3 separate regions of the Homo sapiens genome follow, and regions 1 and 3 are each linked to region 2. The links are contacts of gene promoters, found by promoter capture Hi-C in human tissues and cell types (Jung and others, 2019). All regions are on one chromosome and are shown on one strand. Each heading gives the region's core, a stretch centred on a gene start or on the middle of the fragment in contact. The rest is flanking DNA. Distances are from core to core; before and after follow the strand shown.

Evidence for each region. Contacts are between HindIII fragments. The study calls those that stand out against the background at their distance.
Region 1: a contact is called between a fragment that was not itself captured here and the fragment with the promoter of SLC39A6 in region 2, in 1 of the 25 tissues and cell types used here (lymphoblastoid cells).
Region 3: a fragment that was not itself captured here is called in contact with the fragment with the promoter of SLC39A6 in region 2 in 1 of the 25 tissues and cell types used here (lymphoblastoid cells).

What each region holds. Positions count from the first base shown.
Region 1 is chr18:35,402,664-35,406,072 of GRCh38, reverse strand. LOC105372063 (a long non-coding RNA gene) reads left to right here. Exons shown (of 3, transcript XR_935376.3): 2 at 2,682-2,736. Among named protein-coding and RNA genes, the nearest start is that of ZNF396, 27 kb to the right of the region's middle. The HindIII fragment of the contact is 4,091 bases long and covers 39-3,409 here.
Region 2 is chr18:36,127,365-36,130,589 of GRCh38, reverse strand. It overlaps SLC39A6 (solute carrier family 39 member 6), which reads left to right and starts at 1,250. Exons shown (of 10, transcript NM_012319.4): 1 at 1,250-1,476. ELP2 (elongator acetyltransferase complex subunit 2) reads right to left here and starts at 691. Exons shown (of 22, transcript NM_018255.4): 1 at 519-691. The coding sequence starts at 656. RefSeq lists enhancers at 440-649, 441-946, 810-999, 1,030-1,324, 947-1,452. The HindIII fragment of the contact is 7,969 bases long and covers 1-3,225 here.
Region 3 is chr18:35,418,841-35,422,213 of GRCh38, reverse strand. No RefSeq gene overlaps it. Among named protein-coding and RNA genes, the nearest start is that of ZNF396, 43 kb to the right of the region's middle. The HindIII fragment of the contact is 6,427 bases long and covers 1-3,373 here.

The DNA.
Region 1 (3,409 bases), core at 835-3,334, 730 kb after region 2:
CTTCCTCCTTTTGGCTATTGTGAATAATGCTGGCTATTGTGAATAATGCTGCTACTAACATGGGTGTCCAGATATTTCTTCAAGATCCTGCTTTCAATTCTTTTGGGTATATACCCAGAAGTGGAATTGCTGGATCATATGGTAATTTTATTTTTAGTTTTTTGAGGAACCACTGTTTTCCATAGCAGTTGCACCATTTTACTTTTCTATCAATAATGCACAAGAGTTCCAGTTTCTCCACATTTTTGCCAACGCTTGTTATTTTCCAGTTGTTTGCTTTGGTTTTTTGCTAGTAGCCATCCTAATGCATGTGAGGTGGTATCTTGTGGTTTTGATTTTCATTTCCCTAATTAATGGTGTTTAGCATTTTTTCAGGTGTTTGTTAGACCATTTGTATATCTTCCTTGGAGAAATATCTACTCAAGACCTTTGCCCATATTTTAATTGGTTGTTTGTTGTTGTTGCATTGCAGTTCTTTATGTATTCTGGATATTAAACCCTGTCTGAAATGATTTGCAAATATTTTCTCAAGTTCTATAGGTTGCCTTCTCACTCTGTTGATTGTATCCTTTGATGCACAGGAGTTTTAAAGTTTGATGTAGTCCAGTTTATCTATTTTGGCTTTGTTGCCTGTGCTTTTGGTTTCATATTGAATAAATCATTGCCAAATCCAATGTCTTGAATATTTTCCCCTGTTTTATTCTGAGAGTTTTATAGCTTTAGCTATTGCATTTAGGTCTTTAATTCATTTTAAGTTAATTTTTGTATGATGTGTAAGGGTCCAACTTTATTCTTTTGCATATGGATATCCAATCTTCCCAGCACTATTTGTTGAAAAGACTTTCCCCACTGGATGGTCTCAGCATCCTTGTTAAAAAGCATTTGACTATGTGTGGGGTAGTTTGTTTCTGAGCTCTCTATTCTATTCCTTTGGTCTGTAGGTCTGTCTTTACACCAGTACCATACTGTTCTGATTACCGTATTTTTGGAATAAGTTTTGAATTTAGGAAGTATGAGACCTCCAAATTTGTTCTGTTTCAAGATTGTTCTCATTATTTGGGAGTGCTTCAGATTCCCTCAATTATATTTCAAAACTTTTTGCTTAGAAGTCATGCCTATATGTCAACCTACAGAATGGGAGAAAATTTTTGCAATCTACTCATCTGACAAAGGGCTAATATCCAGAATCTACAAAGAACTTAAACAAATTTACAAGAAAAAAACAAAAAACCCCATCAACAAGTGGGCGAAGGATATGAACAGACACTTCTCAAAAGAAGACATTTATGCAGCCAACAGACACATGAAAAAATGCTCATCATCACTGGCCATCAGAGAAATGCAAATCAAAACCACAATGAGATACCATCTCACACCAGTTAGAATGGCGATCATTCAAAAGTCAGGAAACAACAGGTGCTGGAGAGGATGTGGAGAAATAGGAACACTTTTACACTGTTGGTGGGATTGTAAACTAGTTCAACCATTGTGGAAGACAGTGTGGCAATTCCTCAAGGATCTAGAAATAGAAATACCATTTGACCCAGCCATCCCATTACTGGGTATATACCCAAAGGATTATAAATCATGCTGCTATAAAGACACATGCACACATATGTTTATTGCAGCACTATTCACAATAGCAAAGACTTGGAACCAACCCAAATGTCCATCAATGATAGACTGGATTAAGAAAATGTGGCACATATGGACCATGGAATACTATGCAACCATAAAAAAGGATGAGTTCATGTCCTTTGTAGGGACATGGATGAAGCTGGAAACCATCATTCTGAGCAAACTATCGCAAGGACAAAAAACCAAACACCGCATGTTGTCACTCATAGGTGGGAATTGAACAATGAGAACACATGGACACAGGAAGGGGAACATCACACACCAGGGCCTGTCATGGGGTGGAGGGATGGGGGAGGGATAGCATTAGGAGATATACGTAATGTAAATGACGAGTTAATTGGTGCAACACAACAACATGGCACATGTATACATAACAAACCTGCACATTGTGCACATGTACCCTAGAACTTAAAGTATAATAAAATAAATAAATAAAGAAGTCATGCCTATCTTTTGTTACATGCTTTAGGTGTTTAATTTCTAATGACTATTTAAAGGAAATTTTTTTTACTTCCCAACCTGTTGCTGAAATGTAAAAATGCAGTTGCTTGTTGTATATTGAACTTGTTAAAGCTCTTAATTTATCTATAGGTTATCTACAAATATTACCATGTCTTATTAAAAAATCCTTTTTTTTTTTTTTTTGAGAGAGAGTTTTGCTCTAGTTGCCCAGGCTGGAGTGCAGTGGCATGATCTCAGTTCACTGCAACCTTTGCCTCCTAGGTTCAAGCAATTCTCATGCCTCAGCCTCTTGAGTAGCTGGGACTACAGGCACCCGCCACCACATCTGGCTAATTTTTTGTATTTTTAGTAGAGACTGGGTTTCACCATGTTGGCCAGGCTAGTCTCGAACTCCTGACCTCAGGTGATCCACCTGCCTCCCAAAGTGCAGGGATTACAGGCATGAGCCTCCACACCCAGCCAAAAGTCCTCCTTTCTAATCCTTAGCTTTTAAATTTTTTCCTTGCCTTTGTCTCTGCCAGGATCTCTAAGACAATGTTGAGTATAGGTAGTAACAGTGGAATCCTTGTCTTGTTTCTCAGATCCTTGTCTTGTTTCCCATGTCTAGAAGAAAGCTTGATCATCTCATTATTAAAGGTAATGTTTGCTGTGGGTCTTTTGTGAATACTCTTTATTGTATTAAGGATTTTTCCTTCTATTTCTAGTTTGCTAAGAGGTTGGTTTTTTCTTTTCAACATAGATAGAGATTTGATTTTATTAAATGCCTTTTCTGTATCTATTAAATCATATGATTTTTCTTCTTTGTTTTGTTAATATAGTGGATTGCATTTAATAATTTTCCAATAGTATTAAGTAAACCTTGCATTCCTGGAATGAACCCATTTCATCATGTTGTATGTATTGCTGAGGGATTTTGCTAATATTTTATTTAGATTTTTGTAACTGTATTCATTAGTGAAATTACCTTGCCATTTTTTTCTTTTTTTTGTAATGTTTTTATTAGCTTTTGGCATTTCAGGGTTATCCTGGCCTTATAAAATAAGAATGAGAATATTTTCTATTTTTCTAACATCTGTAAGAATGTTTGAGGTTGGCACTATTTCCTCTTTAAATGTTCGGGAAGATTTCATTAGTGAAACTATCTAGGCTTGTAGTTTTTGTGGGGTGGGGGGATGATTTAAAATTATAGATTCAATTTCCTTAGCAGTATTGGGCATTTAATGTTTCCTATTTCTACTTCTATCAGTAAATTGGAAAATTGTATTTTCAAGGAATTTCAAATGAATATTTCTAAATTTCAAATTGTTAT
Region 2 (3,225 bases), core at 1-2,500:
TCCCCTATGACCTTTCCCCCAAACTGACACTTTCTCTAAAATGTCCATTCCCGTAGCTAAAACACAGGTAACATTTCCTTGAAATTCAATACAACAAAAGTTCATTAACCAAAACTGAAGGAAATACTGAAATGAGATTGCACCTGTGGGATGATGGTTTTAATCTACATATAAATTTCAATTGTTTTAAAACCCAAATTGATTAACGGTACTACAGTTCCCAAGGAAGGCTTCAGGTAAGATGCTTATCATTCGGGTTTCTGCGTGGGACTAACAGGTTACTAGCAGCTCATGGGCAGCAATGACCCTAGGATGACGCCACGCGTGAGACGGCAAAGGGTGAGGGGTGAGGAGCGAGTCCGGCAGGTCCACTGGAGACTCCGAGCCCAAACCCCGCTCCCCTGAGCCGACCCGACTCGCCTCCTAGGTCTGGGGCGGCAACTAACAGCGCGCCCGGAGCACGTCCACAGGTTCAACCCGAAAAGCACAAGGGTCGGCCGTCCAGCGACCTCTCTTACCAGGGGGTCATAGAGCACCACGGAGCAGGACGTGCCAAAGGCCAGAAGTCCTCTGGGCCCAGAGCTCCAGTTCAGGACTCCCCGCACCCGGTTTGGGCAGCAAAACACGTGAGAAGTCTCCAGCACGGGTGCCACCATGTCGCCAACTGGTCAGCCGCACAAACAAGAGACGCGCACTTCCGCCCTCGGAGCGGAACTACTAGGGTGGTTTCTCCTGAGGCATCACCCAGTCCACGTTTCGCAGCCAGCCGAGGGCCAGACGGAGGCAGCCCCGCCCCCCTGAGACTCTCCGTTCCCACCGCAGGCTGGAACCCCTGTGCAAGGCCGCCGCTTTGCTAGCTCTGCTCTTGGACCGTGGCCCCGCTCCGCGAACGAGCCAGGCCTTTGTCTCAAGAGCGAAATCCGACCCGAGTGGCTCGGGACCCTCCCGAAGGACCCGGGGCTCATGTGCCTGGGGCAGCGTCAGAAACATCTCGCTGCCCCTTACGACCCGGCTCCCAGCAGCAGCCAGGGCTGGCCCCGGGGGCGCTGGCTAGCGAGTAGGGCCTCGAGGAAATGACCCCCAACTGCTTACAATGCGCTAGGGCCGCGCCACGCCCCCGCGGCGTCGGCGAACACACGGAAAAGCGGATCCGTCTGCGGAGCCGGGTTCCGGGGTCGCACTGCGCATGCCCTGCAGTCCTGGGCGAAGGGGGCGGTGGTTCCCCGCGGCGCTGCGCGCGGCGGTAATTAGTGATTGTCTTCCAGCTTCGCGAAGGCTAGGGGCGCGGCTGCCGGGTGGCTGCGCGGCGCTGCCCCCGGACCGAGGGGCAGCCAACCCAATGAAACCACCGCGTGTTCGCGCCTGGTAGAGATTTCTCGAAGACACCAGTGGGCCCGTTCCGAGCCCTCTGGACCGCCCGTGTGGAACCAAACCTGCGCGCGTGGCCGGGCCGTGGGACAACGAGGCCGCGGAGACGTGAGTCTTTCAGGTCCGGGAGCAGGGCGGCTGGGAGGGGAGCTCCTCAGGCCAGACAGGCGTGGCGGGGTAGGGGTGGTTCTGCGGAGAACCGGATCCTGCGGACCGGGCAGGGGGGCTACAGAAAGAGGATGCTGGGGGGAGCCCGCCGCAGGCGCCCACTCACCCTAGAGAGCCGGACTTCTTAAGGTGCTCAGATGGGCTTCGGGGTGCAACGGAGGATTTTTTGAGGAAAAGATCCGTACTTTTCATCCCATATTCGAAGAAGGGACTGACGTGTTTAGAAATAAAAAGCTTTTAGAAGAGAGCTTTGTGCCCTCTTTTCCGTTTTCTGTACTCGCCTTTTTCTCTAAGGCCCTTCCCTTCTGCTTTCCTTTTTCCTCCAGCACACACCAACTTGCAGGAAAGGAGATCCTTCAACGGGTCCACGACCGCGCTCAGCATCCTCCCTGGAGAAAGGCTCGGAGCTGTCCCCTGTGCTAGTCCCCTCCCACCCCGCTCCTCGCCTCTCTCCTGGGAATGATTTCTAAATGTTTATCTTTTACCTAGTAAAAGAATTCCCGAAACTTCAAGCCCCAAAGATTCCTCTTTCAGGAGCCTCGTTCTACGCCGTACCTCCATTTCCCACTGTTCCCTGTATGATACCTCGCACTTGTGCAACACATGAGTTTAACGAGTACTTGTAATATACATTCCTTCATGTGTTTTCCTCCTTCGCCTTGCAAAATAGGTTTTACCGGTATTTTAGATAAGGTAATGAATGCGAGAGCCCTGTCCAAAGAACAGCTGACCGTGGTAGAGCTGGATAGCCCCATGCTCTTGCTTAGTTGTAAACTTGACGTCTGCGTCTTTTGCTGGAGATGTGAGTTTGACCACCATCACCTCCACCGTTGGTGCTGGACATCCTGCTGGATCTGAATTAACTGAATTCTGGCTCTGCTTAACTGAATTCTGCTTTTCAAGCTCCAACTCAATTGCTTCCTCCTCTTTGGGGCACAGGCCTTTGGTTCCAAACACTACTGTGGATGATTAACAGCCTGTGATTAAATGTTGACTGGTTTGTAGTAACACAAGGATGCTACAGTGAGTTTTTCATGAAGTTCAGTTTACTTTAAGAATTCTATGTATGGACATAATGTGTCTGATTCATTGTCAAGTCGGAAAAAAGATTCAATGTGTATTTAAAGTATACACTTATTTGAGGCTGGGCGTAGTGGTCACGCCTGTAATCCCAGCACTTTGGGAATTGGAGGTGGAGGATCTCTTGAGGCCAGGAGTTCAAGACCAACCCGGACAACATAGTGAGACCTCGTCTCTAGAAAAAAAAAAAAAAAACTTTAAAAAAAAAATTAAGTATACATGTATTTGAGTATGCATAGAAAATATCCTGAGGGATACACTGGCAAAATTGAGCACCTTTGAGGATTGTGATTGGGGAAAGGGGTCTTAAATGGGCTTGTATGTAAGGAGAGTGTATTAGTTTAAAATTTTTTAAATATGTGAATTCTGAGATTATTATTTCTATTTTTTGGTGTTTGAAGGTTATTTTATGAAATGATGGTGATGATCAAGGTAGCTAGATTTCATTTCGTTCTTTTTTTTTTTTGAGACAGGGTTTCACAATGTTGCCCAGGCTGGTCACAAACTCCTGGCCTCAGGTGATCTGCCTGCCTCAGCCTCCCAAAGTGCTGGGATTATAGGCATGAGCCACCACACCCAGCCTAGATTTAATTATGAATCATTGGCCTC
Region 3 (3,373 bases), core at 480-2,979, 710 kb after region 2:
TTCTATCTCTGTGAGCAAGCTACAACCAACCCCACCACAGAGAGCAAACCAGTACCCCAACACCCAGGTGCCAAAATAGGTTCACAAGACACTAAGCCTAGGACTCCAGACTCACAACTACTGCAAGCACCTGCACCTGGAACCCAGTGTCATTGCAGCTGCTTGTAGGCTGTATCAGACCTGACACTAAGAGATTTCCTTGGCTAAATCCCCCCCATTGTGTGGAAAATGAGAATATAAGGACCCCCAGATCTCATGAGAACTCACTCACTATCATGAGAACAGCAAGGATGAAGTCCACTCTCATGATCCAATCACCTCCCACCAGGCTCCTCCTCCAATACTGGGGATTACAATTCAACATGAGATTTAGGCAGGAACACACATTGAAACTATATCACAATGCATCTCAAGGAACTAGAAAAGCAAAAGCAAACCAAACTCAAAATTTGTGGAAGGTAAGAAATAATAAAGAACAGAGCATAAATAAATAAAATTGAGACATAAAAAGATATAAAATATCAATGAAACAAGAAGTTGGCTTTTTAAAAAGATGAACAAAATCAGCAAACCATTATGTAGACTGACCAAGAAAAAAGAAGATCTAAATAAATAAAACAGAAATGAAAACGAGGTATTGCAACTAATATCACAGAAATACAAAGAATTATTTGTCTATTACATTACAAACAACTATATGCCAACAAATCAGAAAACTGAATGGAAATAGATAAATTCCTGGACATATACAACCTATCAAGATAGAAATAATAAGAAACAGAAAACCTGAACAGACCCCTTATGAGTTATGAGCTTAAATCTGTAATAAAAAGCCTCCCATCAAAGAAAAGCCGAGGCCCCAATGGCTTCACTGAGTTATTCGCCCAAACATTTAAAGAGCCAATAACAATATGTCTCAAGCTATTCCCAAAAAGTAAAGAAGATTCAAGCTCATTCTTCCTGGTTAAAAGGAAAATTAAAAGTAAAGAGGAGGAACTACTTCCAAACTCATTCTATGAGGTCAACATTCCGCTGATACCAAAACCAAAAATACAACAAAAAAAGAAAACTATACACCAATGTCTCTGATGGACCAGTATGCAAAAATCTCGGATGAAATACTAGCAAACTGAATCCAGCAGCACATTAAAAAGATTATTCACCATGATCAAGGGGGATTTATCCCAGGGATACAAAGATGGTTCAAATCAATAAATGTGACACATCATATCAGCAGAAAGAACAAAAACCATATAATCATCTCAATAGCACAGAAAAAGCATTAGACAAAATCCAACATCAATTTTTGTGGGTTTTTTTTTTTTTGAGATGGGTTTACACTTTGTTGCCCAGGCTTGAGTGCAGTGGTGTGATCTTGGGTCTTGGCACAATCTCCACCTCCCAGGCTCAGGTGGGTCTCCCACCTCAGTCTTCTAGGTAGCTGGGACCACAGGCACATACCACCTTGCCTGGCTAATTTTTGTATTTTTGGTAAAAACAGGGTTTTGTCATGTTGCTCAGGCTGGTCTCAAACTTCTGAACTCAAGCTATCTGCCCACCTGAGCCTCCCAGTGCTGAGATTGCAGGTGTGAGCTACTGTGCCCAGCTGATTCTTGTGGGCTTTTTTGTTTGTTTTTTTGTGAAAAAAAATCCAAATCTTAGCAAACTAGGAATATGAGGGAAATTCTTCAACCTGATAAAGGCCATCTATGAAAGACTTAGAGTTAACATTATACTTAATGGTGAAAGACTGAAGGCTTTCCCCTAATATTAGGAACAGGACAAGGACAACATTTAACATTGCACAGGAGATTATGGCCAGTGCAATAAGAAAGAAAAGTAAGAAACGGAAACAAAAATAAATTCCTTTTTTATATACTAGGAATGAACAATCATATATTGATATTAAAATACAATGTTTCCAAAAAATGAAAAGCTTGGGATACATCTGACAAAAGATGTGAAAGAGCTCTACACTGAAAAATATAAAACAATGCTGAGATAAATAAAAGAAAATCTAAATAAAAGGAGATTATATTTTGTTCGGTGGTAAGAAAACACAACATATAGTTGTGATGTCAATTCTCCCTAAATTAATCTATATATTCAATTCAATCTCAAAATCCAGTATTATTCATATAGAAATTGATATTTTGATTCTAAAATTCACATAGAAATGCAAAAACCTGAAATATTCAAACAACTTTGAAAAATAAGAGAAAAATTGCGGTTAACTCTACCAGACTTCAAGACACTGTAATGCTGTGATAGTCAAAACAGTGTTGTATTGGCATAGCAATAAACAATCAGATAAATGGAACAGAATACAGAGTCCAGATATAGACCCAAACATACATTGACAAAGGATTTTTGACAAAGGTACAGGGAAATCCAGTAGAGAAAAAGTATCTTAGTTCATTCAGGCAGCTATAACAAAAATACCTTAGACTGAGTAATTTATACATAATAGAAATGTATTGCTCACAGTTCTGGAGGCTGGGAAGTCCAAAATCAATGCACTATCAGATTTAGTGTCTGGTGAGGGAATGATCTCTTTTTCCAAGGTGGCACCTTGTTACTGCATCCTCACATGGCAGGTCAAGGCTGTTCCCTTCAACCTCTTTTATAAGGGCAGTAATCCCATTCATGGCATCTCTGCCTCATGACTTAATCACTTCCTAAAAGTCCCACCTCTCAATACTGTCAGATTTGTGATTAAATTTCAACATCTGAATTTTGGGAGGACACATCCAGATCATTGCAGATAGCCTTTTTAACAAATGATGCTGGAACAATTGCATATCCACATGAAAACAAATGAACTATTCATACTTCACACTATATATAAATATTAACACAAAATGGATCTATATTAGTCCATTCTTACACTGCTATAAAGAACTGCCCTGGACTGGGTAATTTATAAAGAAAAGAGGTTTAACTGACTCACAGTTCCATATGGCTGGGGCCTCAGGAAACTTAAAATCATGGTGGAAAGGGAAGCAGGCATGTCTTACACGGTTGCAGGCGAGAGAGAGAATGTGTGAGAGTGCAGGAAAAACTACCATTTATAGCCATTTATAAAACAATCAGATGTCATGAGAATTCACTCACTATTACGAGAACAGCATGGGGGAAATGGCCTTCATAATCCAGTCACTTCCCTCTCTCAACACATGGGGATTAAAATTCGAGATGAGATTTGGGTGAGGACACACAGCTAAACCATATCAGGGTCATTGACTGTGGTAAGAAGAATTACGTCCACCAAAAAGTTTCTATACCCTGATCCCCAAGACTGAATATGTTACATAGCAAAAATGACTTTGCAGAGGTAATTAAGGTTACTAATCAGCTGACTTAGAATAGGGAG